Linked DNA regions of Homo sapiens: region 1 is linked to region 2. Evidence: promoter capture Hi-C in 16 types of primary human blood cells and fetal thymus (Javierre and others, 2016). All regions are on one chromosome and are shown on one strand. Each heading gives the region's core, a stretch centred on a gene start or on the middle of the fragment in contact. The rest is flanking DNA. Distances are from core to core; before and after follow the strand shown. Region 1 overlaps AIM2 (absent in melanoma 2). Region 2 holds the start of FCRL2 (Fc receptor like 2).

The links. Contacts are between HindIII fragments. The CHiCAGO score rates a contact against its expected background, and 5 or more counts as called.
Region 1: a fragment that was not itself captured here is called in contact with the fragment with the promoter of FCRL2 in region 2 in 1 of 17 cell types (naive B cells); the score reaches 5.7 in naive B cells.

The regions. Positions count from the first base shown.
Region 1 is chr1:159,067,401-159,072,599 of GRCh38, forward strand. AIM2 (absent in melanoma 2) reads right to left here. Exons shown (of 6, transcript NM_004833.3): 3 at 1,168-1,301. Among named protein-coding and RNA genes, the nearest start is that of AIM2, 6.8 kb to the right of the region's middle. RefSeq lists an enhancer at 526-915. The HindIII fragment of the contact is 683 bases long and covers 2,895-3,577 here.
Region 2 is chr1:157,774,546-157,779,897 of GRCh38, forward strand. It overlaps FCRL2 (Fc receptor like 2), which reads right to left and starts at 2,587. Exons shown (of 12, transcript NM_030764.4): 1 at 2,498-2,587; 2 at 1,230-1,250. The coding sequence starts at 2,528. The HindIII fragment of the contact is 5,936 bases long and covers 758-5,352 here.

The sequences.
Region 1 (5,199 bases), core at 1,986-4,485, 1.3 Mb after region 2:
GGCAAAACAAACAGAGGCATAAAAAGCCAAGCGTAGGAGTCTCTGAAGGGTGTCTCTGATGTGACCTGGAGCTTGGGGCAGTGGAGCTTGGGCCAGTAAGGGGCCCTGATGGGCAGCATAACTGACTGCATTTGGATCAATGCAGGGAAAGGTCAGCTCCACTGAGGTCCACTACAGAAGTCCTTCTCTTTGGTCCATGTATCTTTATTTGGGTCTTCCAGACTGAAAAATGCATATTTTCATTACTGATGAGGGAATCACACCATTTATACTTGAACCTTGTTTTCCTGAAAAATCCAGAAGTTTCTGGGCCAAACCCAGAGGAAATGGTTCCTCTAGACAAAGAGAATGAAGTATATATCATCAGTTTTTAGAGCTCACACAGGTATAAAATAATGTAATACCTGCTTCATAGGAAATGAAACTGCATGTGTGGTGGATTCTGTGCTGGGCCTTTCTAACGTTGTCTGCCACTCCCTCAGGACTAAAGTAATCATTCTCACCAATGACACTCTCCAGCCACTACTCTCTCAGCTAAATGGGGCCACCTCACCTTGTCCATGCAGGTGTATAAAGGGCTTTTTTACATTACTTTTAAAAAAGCAATTTGCTGTCAAGAACCAAGCAGAAAACAAACAGAGGCATGCCAGACCGAGTGTCAGAGTCTCTGAATTGGATCTCTGATGTGACCCAGAGCCTGGGCCTGTACAAACCACAGACTCCCTCACAAATCTTGGGAGCCCTGAAAGACATTCTCAGCTCCCGAGCTCCCTGTAGGGTAGGCCAAGGCCTCTATTGCAACTACATTGGACTTGACATTCTTCCTCTTCTTCTCCTTTCACTTCCTCACAGATATTAATTCTGAAAGTGCTCTAAAATAGACTTCCTGTAAACAACGGTCTATCTCAGAGTTTTCTTCTTATAGAATCCAAAACATAACAAAGTGTTAATGTGTCCAGAACCTGGCAGAGATTAGAAGCTCAACAGGTGTTTAATCTGATGAATCAAAGGTAGTTCCTGTTTTTGTGACTCAGAATGCTTTTCATGCTGTGGCCTTGCTTCCCTTATTTGCATGCTGTGAGATAAAGAACAGAGAACAATATGGGAAGTGACAGTGACAGTGATGCTCTTACAAGGACAAAGACCACTCCACTCTCCTTATCCTACCTTAACATGAGGAGAGACTTTTGGTGCAGCACGTTGCTTTGCGACATCATTTCTGATGGCTGCAGATGCAGCAGGACTCATTTCAGCTTGACTTAGTGGCTTTGGTTTTGTTACCGATTTGTATTGCTTATCAACTGATTAAAAAATGAAAGACATGGCCAATAAGCATATAAACATATGAGCAGTGCACATTTTCAAATGTCACCAGGAATAAATACTAAAACCATATTAAGATATCTTCAAGAACAGCTAATTTTTCTTAAAAAAAAATCATATTTTAAAATGAAAGAAACTGGACCTGGCACAGACACCAGTAATCCCAGCACTTTGGGAGGCCAAGGCTGGAGGATCACTTGAGGCCAGGGGTTTGAGACCAGCTTAGTCAACATAGGGAGACCCTATCTTTACAAAAAATATTTTCAAAATTAGCCAGGTATAATGGCACATGTTTTTAGTCCCAGCTACTTGGGAGGCTGAGGCAAGGATAACTTAAGCCCAGGAGTTCAAAGCTGCAGTGAGTCATGATTGCACCACTGCACTCCAGCTTGGATGACACAGTGAGACCCTGTCTGTCTCAAAAAAAAAAAAAAGACAAGAAACAAAAACTATGAAGTAGTAGTCGTCTTAAATTGGTATAACACTTTGGAAAATGGTTTGGGACGCTATTTATTAAAATTCAATATCTACTTACCTTAACATCCAGTAATACCATTCACAGGTGTACAGTCAAGAGAAACACACATACAAATACAAACATACAAAGATAAGTATATAAGGCTTATAATGTACATAAATATTCATAGCAGCATTATTCATAATGGCCTCCAATGACTAAAATAACAATAAAAATACACCAATTCTCTCTCTCTATATATATGTATATCAGTTTATGTGTATATGTAATTATCAATTAAATGGAATCTTATGTAGTAGTGAAAATGAATAAACTGCTGCTATGAAACAAGGGCTGATTTCTTTCTTTTTTTTTTTTTTGAGACGGAGTCTCACTCCGTCACCCAAGCTGGAGTGCAGTGGCGCAATCTTGGCTCACTGCAACCTCTGCCTCCTGGGTTCAAGTGATTCTCCTGCCTCAGCCTCCTGAGTAGCTGGGATTACAGGCTCATGCCACCACGCCTGACTAATTTTTGTATTTTTTTAGTAAAGATGGGGTTTCACCATGTTGTTAAGGCTGGTCTTGAGCTCCTCACCTCGTGATGCGCCCACCTCAGCCTCCCAAAGTGTTGGGATTACAGGCGTGAGCCACCGCGCCTGGCCACAGATTTCTAATTATGTTCTACAAGGCCTTGCATTTTCCTTCTGTCGAGGGGACCCCATCCTGCCCTCTGAAGATTCTCTGTACTGCAGCCATACTGGCCTTCTTTCAGTCCTCAAGCAAGTCAACACCTGCTGTCAGAGGGATTTTCACACAGTGTTCCCTCTGACTGAAGGTACCTTTAACTCCTATGCATTTTTCACAGCTTAGTGCAAGTCACTTCCCCATGGAACCCGCTTTGACCAACACCAACTCTAACTCCTGGCTTATGTTAATGCTCCTTTGACACATGCTGCTGAAGAACCATCTTCCTTTCCATCAGAACATTTGTCTCAGTTAGTTACCTGTCTCAGTTAATTTGCCTGTAAGAAAAATATCTACTTTCCCTTTAGAGTATAAACTGTACAAAATTTGGATTTGTTTTTAAAACCTTGTTTTATCATAAGAACCTAAAAGCTTTCCTTGTACCTATTAGCAATTCAATGGATATTTACTGAATGGATGAAGAAATGGATGGATGGGTGGCATGTTGGCTCCTCACTAATGCCTACAAAATGCAGTCGTATACTCTGGCTGGGCTCCTCCACGTCTATGGTCAGGTTATATGTTATCGTGAAAAGCCAACTCCTACTCCTGATTTTTAAAAAGACCATGTAACAAGATGGCCATGTTTGATGACTTAAGGCACTCTCAGGCAGAAGAGGGCCTGGGAAATTATTAGATGTTATTTCTGATAGAATTTGAACAATTCTGGACTGAAATAGCAAGGCAATCACTGATTTTACTAAAAAGAGAAACGATTTAATTATTAGAGCTAAGAGTAGAATGAACTGTCTTATGAGGTAGTAGGTACTCTGTCATTACCTTTCAAAGATCAGAAAGTGGTTGACTGTCTGACAGGGATATTGTAGCAGGATCTCTGCACTAGGAAGAAGTTAAACTAACCTTCCAATGGTAAGTTAGTTCCATGAAATTGGTTTCAGAAAGGTATGCAGATAAAGTCTCTCTTCTATGTTCACAGCATCGGAGAGAAAACAGCATCAAGGGAGGCGGAAGGAATCAACCTACCATTCTACCACATCACATCAGCCATATTTCATTTCACACACTGTGGTACCAATGCAATATTTGTGGACAAGCTTGTCTGCCAATTATAAATCTCTCATTTGCCTTAATAATCAGGTGCACATTGTTACTGATTATTTCATTTATCATTTTCAGCATTTTATTTTAATCTTGCAGGACTTTTGTGGACTTTGATCACATTTTCTCTTAGCTTCCTTTTTCTACGCTTATGTGTCCTTATATTTTCTCATCTTGCTTCATACAAAAGCTTCTCCTGTCTACTAATTATTGCCTCTGTCTTCATTAAAGATTCTCCAGGTATCTTCTACCTTCCATGAGGTGAGGTCATGAGTAGAATAGCATATAGCACTCTACATGCAGACATGCAATGGCAATGGAGAAGGATCACTTAACCAAGAATGACAGATTAACTGTTCAAAAAATAAAACAAAAACTGTTTTCCTAAAATAATAGAAATAGCATGGACACACAAAAATTTCCTACATTCAAAAGCGGCCTAAGTATGTCCGTGGATAGAATTTTAGAGCTATGAAGGAACTTAACTGCCTTCTTGTATAGCATGCAAGAAGCATACTTTGTGTTTTGTTGTTGTTGTTGTTTGAGACAGGGTCTCACTGTTGTTGCCCAGGCAGGAGTGCAGAGGTGTGATCTCAGCTCACTGCAACCTCTCCCTCCCAGGTTCAAGTGATTCTCGTGCCTCAGCCTCCCAAGTAGCTGGCATTACAGATGCCCGCCACCATGCCTGGCTAATTTTTGTATTTTTAGTAGAGACAAAGTTTCACTATGTTGGCCAGGCTGATCTCGAACTCCTGAACTCAAGTGATCCACCCGCCTTGGCCTCCCAAAGTGCTGGGATTAAAGGCGTGAGCCACTGCGCCTGGCCCAAAAGCATACTTTGAATCCTACAACTGTTACATTTGGAGACTCTCATTTGGGAGAGTCCTTGGATAATCTACTCCTGAGTTTCCAAGCTAGTCCCAAACTGGATCTTTTTTAGCTAAGCAGAATAACAAAATCCCAGAATCATTAGAATAGCAAAATGGGGAGAAGATTGTAGAAGGGGAAATTTTGTTCTATCCTGGTCAAAGAGAAGAATTAATTCTTGATTTATTACCAAAATAAAAGATATTTCTAAATATCTCAGCCTATGTTTGCCAATATGCCTAGATTCCTGGCTCATCCCAGATAAGAAAAACACAGGGCAATGTTTTGGTTGGTTACTTGGAAGTAACATGTGTAGTTACTGCCATCTAAGGGCCATCTCTAAGAACTACACCTTCTAACTTAAAGCCTGGGAAAACCACCACTCCTTTCTCTTTAGTGCCTTAGAAACTACCTAACAGTTTATATCTGTATAGAATTATGAATGTACATAGTATCACTTATGTGGCTTCATTTAGCCTTCCTATAACTCATGTGTGAGAAGCCATGTCACCCTTGTTGTACACCCACAAATGCTACTAAAAGCTATTATAATTTTTGCTGCTACTGTTGTACTTTGAATCCTAAAACTGTTGCATTTGGAGACTTTCATTTTGGAGAGTCCTTGAGTGATATGCTCCTCTGTTAGCTCCTTTTTGTTCTTCAGACATAAAGCTGGGACATATCAATTGTTCTTAGTAAACAAAATCAGGAATTTAAACTAAATGTAGATAATTCAGATGGAGATGAGT
Region 2 (5,352 bases), core at 1,337-3,836:
TGTTGCCCTGTTCTCTGAATGGTCGTAGGTGATTCACTTCAGGGAGCCTGCTGTCTTGGCATGATTCCACTAATGGTCAGAAACCTCCTGAATATTGATCGAGGTTTCCTCTAATTTCCATCCAGACAGACAGTGGAGTGATGGGTATCACAGGGTGGGACTCCTGGACCTTATGTGGGACAGAATGAATGCAAGAGACCAGACTTGCTCCTGAGCAAGTTCCAGGTAGGACCCCTGAATGTCTCCCTGGACACTCTTGTTCCATTCAAGGTGACAGCAGGATCTGCTTTTCCCACACTGTTCCTTAGAGCCCAAAGAGCCCCTTCCACTTGGTAGCCAGCATTCAATGGGCAAGGGAACAAGTCTCCCTTTCTTTAGATTTTGTCTTGGCTCATGTGAAGATTCTGTATATAGAATAAAATATTTTTCCCATTGACTTCCTTCACTGAGCACAGATTTAACTCAGAAAGAGTGAAATAAAATTAGCTTTATTTCACTCTTTATGATTAGAACAGTAATACATGCATTTTTAAAAAATCAAAACTAAATACTAAATCTAGAGCACGGGTTGGCAAATTATGGCCTGTGAGCTGGCCAACACTGTTTTGGTAAATAAAATGTTATTGGAACACAGCCATCCTCATTCGTTTACATATGGTCTATGGTTGTTTTCCTGCTACCACAGCAATGGCATTGAGTAGTTACGGCACACACCTGAAAAGCTTAGCCTATTTACTCTCTTGCCTTTTACAGGAAAAGCTTGCTGATTCCTGAGCTAGAGCTAGAGAAGCAATGAGGACACATGTTTATTCTGACCCTGCAGAAGTTTGTAGTTCTGACACATTCCTCTATAAATAGCTGTTTTCAGAGCTGTAAAAACATTCAGCATTCAGCCAGACAATAAAGAGGCATTACAGTCCTATGGGCAGGAAAACAATTCTCTCCAAATTGTTCTTTTCTTCAATCTGCATGTTATTGCCCTTCTTAAAGCCAGGCTTTTAAGGAAGAGGCAAGCATGTGGGGTCTTGAGAAGGCTAGGTGGTACCTGGTCACCCAGACATGCAAGTGGTGTTGGAAACAGGCTGCGTGACCTCAGAACATGTCAGCCTAGAGGGCAGTAATATTAGGACATCTTCACAGGCTTTCCAGAGCCACCTCTATAGAATCCTGGGGTAGTGGGGTGACTGATATGCCAGAGACCAAGAACAACAAAGACAAGGAGGACTCACCTGCCTGTTCAGTGACTGCATCTGTGAGGAGATCAAAAGCCAGAGATTAGCACACAGCATTTGCCCTCATAATTTATAAATTTATATTACTCTGGTAAATTGCTCAAAAACTTCTTTCCATTTTCCCTTTCTTTTCTATTTCCCTAATCTCTTATTACTAACAATTCAATCTCCCTCGAGCACACATCTAACTGTCATTCATTGTAGTCAAAAGGCAAGTTGCAAACCCAATGCTTGACTAAAGGGATTGTCGAGAATACCCATGTTGGATATTTAGTGACTCTCCTTGATTTCATTTTCCTTCCACCATCCCCACCACTCTATCTCACACTCTGACTTTTCAAGTGGTAGATAGACATGACAACACGATCACAAAGGGCTCATCAGGAAACATACATTGTGAGAGTTCCAAGAAATCAACAAATCAGTCTCTTTCCTATGGCCATATTTCACGTTAGAGCCCTTTGTATTCCAATAACAAATATTTATTTAGTGCCTACACAGCATAGAGAAAGGGATCTTATTTACTCTCTCACCCAGGCTGGAGTACAATGGTGCGATCTTGGCTCACCACAACCTCCACCTCCCGGGTTCAAGCAATTCTCCTGCCTCAGCTTCCCGAGTAGCTGGAATTACAGGTGCCCACCACCACGCCTGGCTAATTTTTGTATTTTTAGTAGAGATGAGGTTTCACCATGTTGGCCGGGGTGGTCTCGAACTCTGACCTCAAGTGATCCACCAGCCTTGGACTCCCAAAGTGCTAGGATTACAGGTATGAGCCACTGCACTCACCCAGGAATCTTATTTTCTAGCAGCAGCTGTCATCTCCCTCATTGTCCACGATTAAACAGAGGAATATTAGCAAAGGGTCTCAATGCATCTGCTGAACCCAAATCTTATAGATAACAATTGAATAATCGGTGTTCATGGAGGAGAAGGGCATTGCTAAATGCTAATATTATGAACATTTTACTATGAGAACATTATATTACTCAATGAGATCTAAGATATCAAAATAGCAATTCATGACCAGCAAATGGAAAAGTGGTCCACCTTGAACATTAAGCATTGTGCTTAATGCTTAATGGATGTGCTGCAAATTCACTGTCCTCAGCCTACTTCTTTGCATCTGCCTTTGAAGCCCAAGCTGCAGGCAGGACCTGAGCATCCCCACCAGTCCCTGGGCTCCAATAAAACCTCCAACCTTTTGGGAGCAGTAGACCTCATTCAGCTGCCACCTCACTTCTCAGTCAAATTATTGAACTCACCAAAGATGACCAGCAATGACCACAGCAGCATGAGGACCTAATCCAGCTATTTGAAAAGAGATGTACTCTTGGTCACCAACTGGAGACTCTGAGCAGGCGATGAAATGTGGTTTTCAGAATAGGTTTTGTATAATTAGCAAAAAAGGAAGTAGAATAGTGCCACTATGTTTAACCATTATCTTTGTCCTGGAAGGGCTAAAACAATTATAGCTGATCCTCTCAATGCCAGAGAAATTTTGTAACTTGACCCTCATTATGATACCTAGCATTTACATATGGGTTGCAATGAGTCAGACACAGTTCTAAGTGCCTCATGCTTACAGAGTTATTTATTACCTTCAGCAAGTTTCTGAATTGGCACTATCCCCTTTCACATGAATAAGGAAATTGAGGCACTAGTAAAGGTAAGTGTCTTAGTCCATTGGGGCTGCTATAAAGAATACCTTAGACTGAGAAATTTATAAACAACATAAATTTATCACTCATAGTTCAAGAGGCTGGGAAGTTTAAGATCAAGGCACCAGTAGATTCAGTGTCTGATGAGGGCCTGTTTCTCATAGATGGTGTCCTCTATGTGTCTTCACATGATGGAAGGAGCAAACAAGCTCCCTCAAGCCTCTTTTACAAGGAGACTAATCCTTTTCATAAGAGTTCCACACTCATGACCCCTAAAAGGTCATGTAATAAAAGGTGGGTACCTTTTATTACTATTGCATTGAGGATTAAGTATCAACATAAGAATTTTGCCAGGACACAAACATTCAGATGATAGCAGCCAGTAAAATGACCAAGATCAGCTTAATCAATTTCTAGTAGTAACAGATCTGGGATTCAAACCCAGGCAGCCCAGTGTCACAGTCTGGCTCTTAAACATTGTGCCCTATTATCTTGATATATTGCTTCTCAAGGTTCATAAAATAATAAGGCCATTGTTTCAATAGCTCATATTTCTTAAGTAAAATTTTTCGTAGTCATTCGATGACTTTCTAGAATGAGATTTTACTAAACTTCAAAACACTTGCACTATATTGCTGAAAACATTGCCATCTTTCTAATCTGTAATCACAACATTGCCTATTTCTAATCTGCATTGCTTTTTGTACCCCAGGCTGATCCTAATACAGTTATCTCACACAAAGCAAAGCGCGTGTTATGTGAACACCTATTATCATGCTCACTTTGATTAGATGTAGTCCCAGTAGATGTTGTCTCATCAGTGAACCTTATGCAGGATGAAACTCTAAACCAAAAAATCACAGGTGCTTATAAATGAGGGACTGACTGAAAATATTCATAGACTCAATGTTACCTGTTCAGGTACTTAACATTTACCTGAATACTTAACATTGAATTTTTAACAATTGGATACTTAACATTTTATTCTCACTATTATCATAGTTTTACTTTGAGAAAGGCTAATATTTATATGTGATGGTCATTAAAGCCTTGCTTATAATAATGTAAAAAGAAAATACTAAAAATATATCACAAGGAGAGATGTGTGTTAAAAATAAGTTATGTGTCAAATGCTGTGGAAAACCAAACAGCCATTAAAATAATTCTGTGGAATAATATTTAATAGCAAGATAAGATGTCTAGGATATATGATTAAGAAAAAAGTGGGCTGGGTGCGGTGGCTCACGCCTGTAATCTCAGCACTTTGGGAGGCTGAGGCGGGCGGATCACGAGGTCAGGAGATCAAGACCATCCTGGCTAACACGGTGAAACCCCATCTCAACTAAAAATACAAAAAATTAGCCGGGCGTGGTGGCAGGTGCCTGTAGTCCCAGCTGTTTGGGAGGCTGAGGCAGGAGAATGGTACAAACCCGGGAGGCAGAGCTTGCAGTGAGCCGAGATCGTGCCACTGCACTCCAGCTTGGGTGACAGAGCAAGACTCCGTCTCAAAAAAAAAAAAGAAAAGAAAAGAAAAGAAAAAAGTGGCTGCAGAGTGCACTTTATCTGCTGCACATTATCCCCTGCTCTCCAATAAAAAGTGTCTGAGACAATTCGCACCACAGAGTTACTGTAATTATATCCAAAAAATCTAATTAAAGCTGATTTTTATTTTCCTTATTTTGCTTATCTGTGTATTCTAGTATTCTTACAATAAACATATGCTATTTACGTACTTTTTAAAGATTCATTATAAGAAACTAGGTTTTATGGCCTCTCTCATCTTAAAGTGTTGAAAACAATACTACTTTAACTTTCTGCATAGGCAAACGGTTTGTATGTGTTTGAAAGTGTAAGTTACTCTTTCCCAGGACCAAAGCTAGTCACTGATCATCAAATCTTGCCTACTGAATGGGTTTCTAGGTGGCCTATAATTCCTTCCCATTCTGACCAACCTGGAAGCTATAGAAATTTTGTGGATGGGAGGGAATTAAGGAAAGGAGTACAAATAGGATCATGAAAAAGTTGATGGTAAATTGATGGTAGGTACAAGTTTTTCATAGACATCAAGGAGATTTTTCAAAATAATCCATATCCCTTCACTGATTTCTATATACCCTCTATGGAAATGTGGCCTCTTCAGTTAAGAATCAATATTTCTTAAGGTGTTACCAAATGATATGAGGTAAAATTCACAGTTGGTATAAAAGGTGCAGGTGGAAAGCAGCAGTAATGAGGTGTGTGGGCCACAGAGGTGGCAACAAATCCTCTAAGATGGCTAACATGTTTCATGTGGGTGCTACTCTGTATTTGACAGACGGCAGTAATTTACAAGTGAATAGGCATATCCTGGAAGCGTAGCTAAACTTGAATGCACAGTAGGCACTGTGACCAGAGATTAAGAGGCTTAATAGACACTTGGTGGGGGGTGGGGAAAGTAACTTAAAAATTAAGGCAATAGT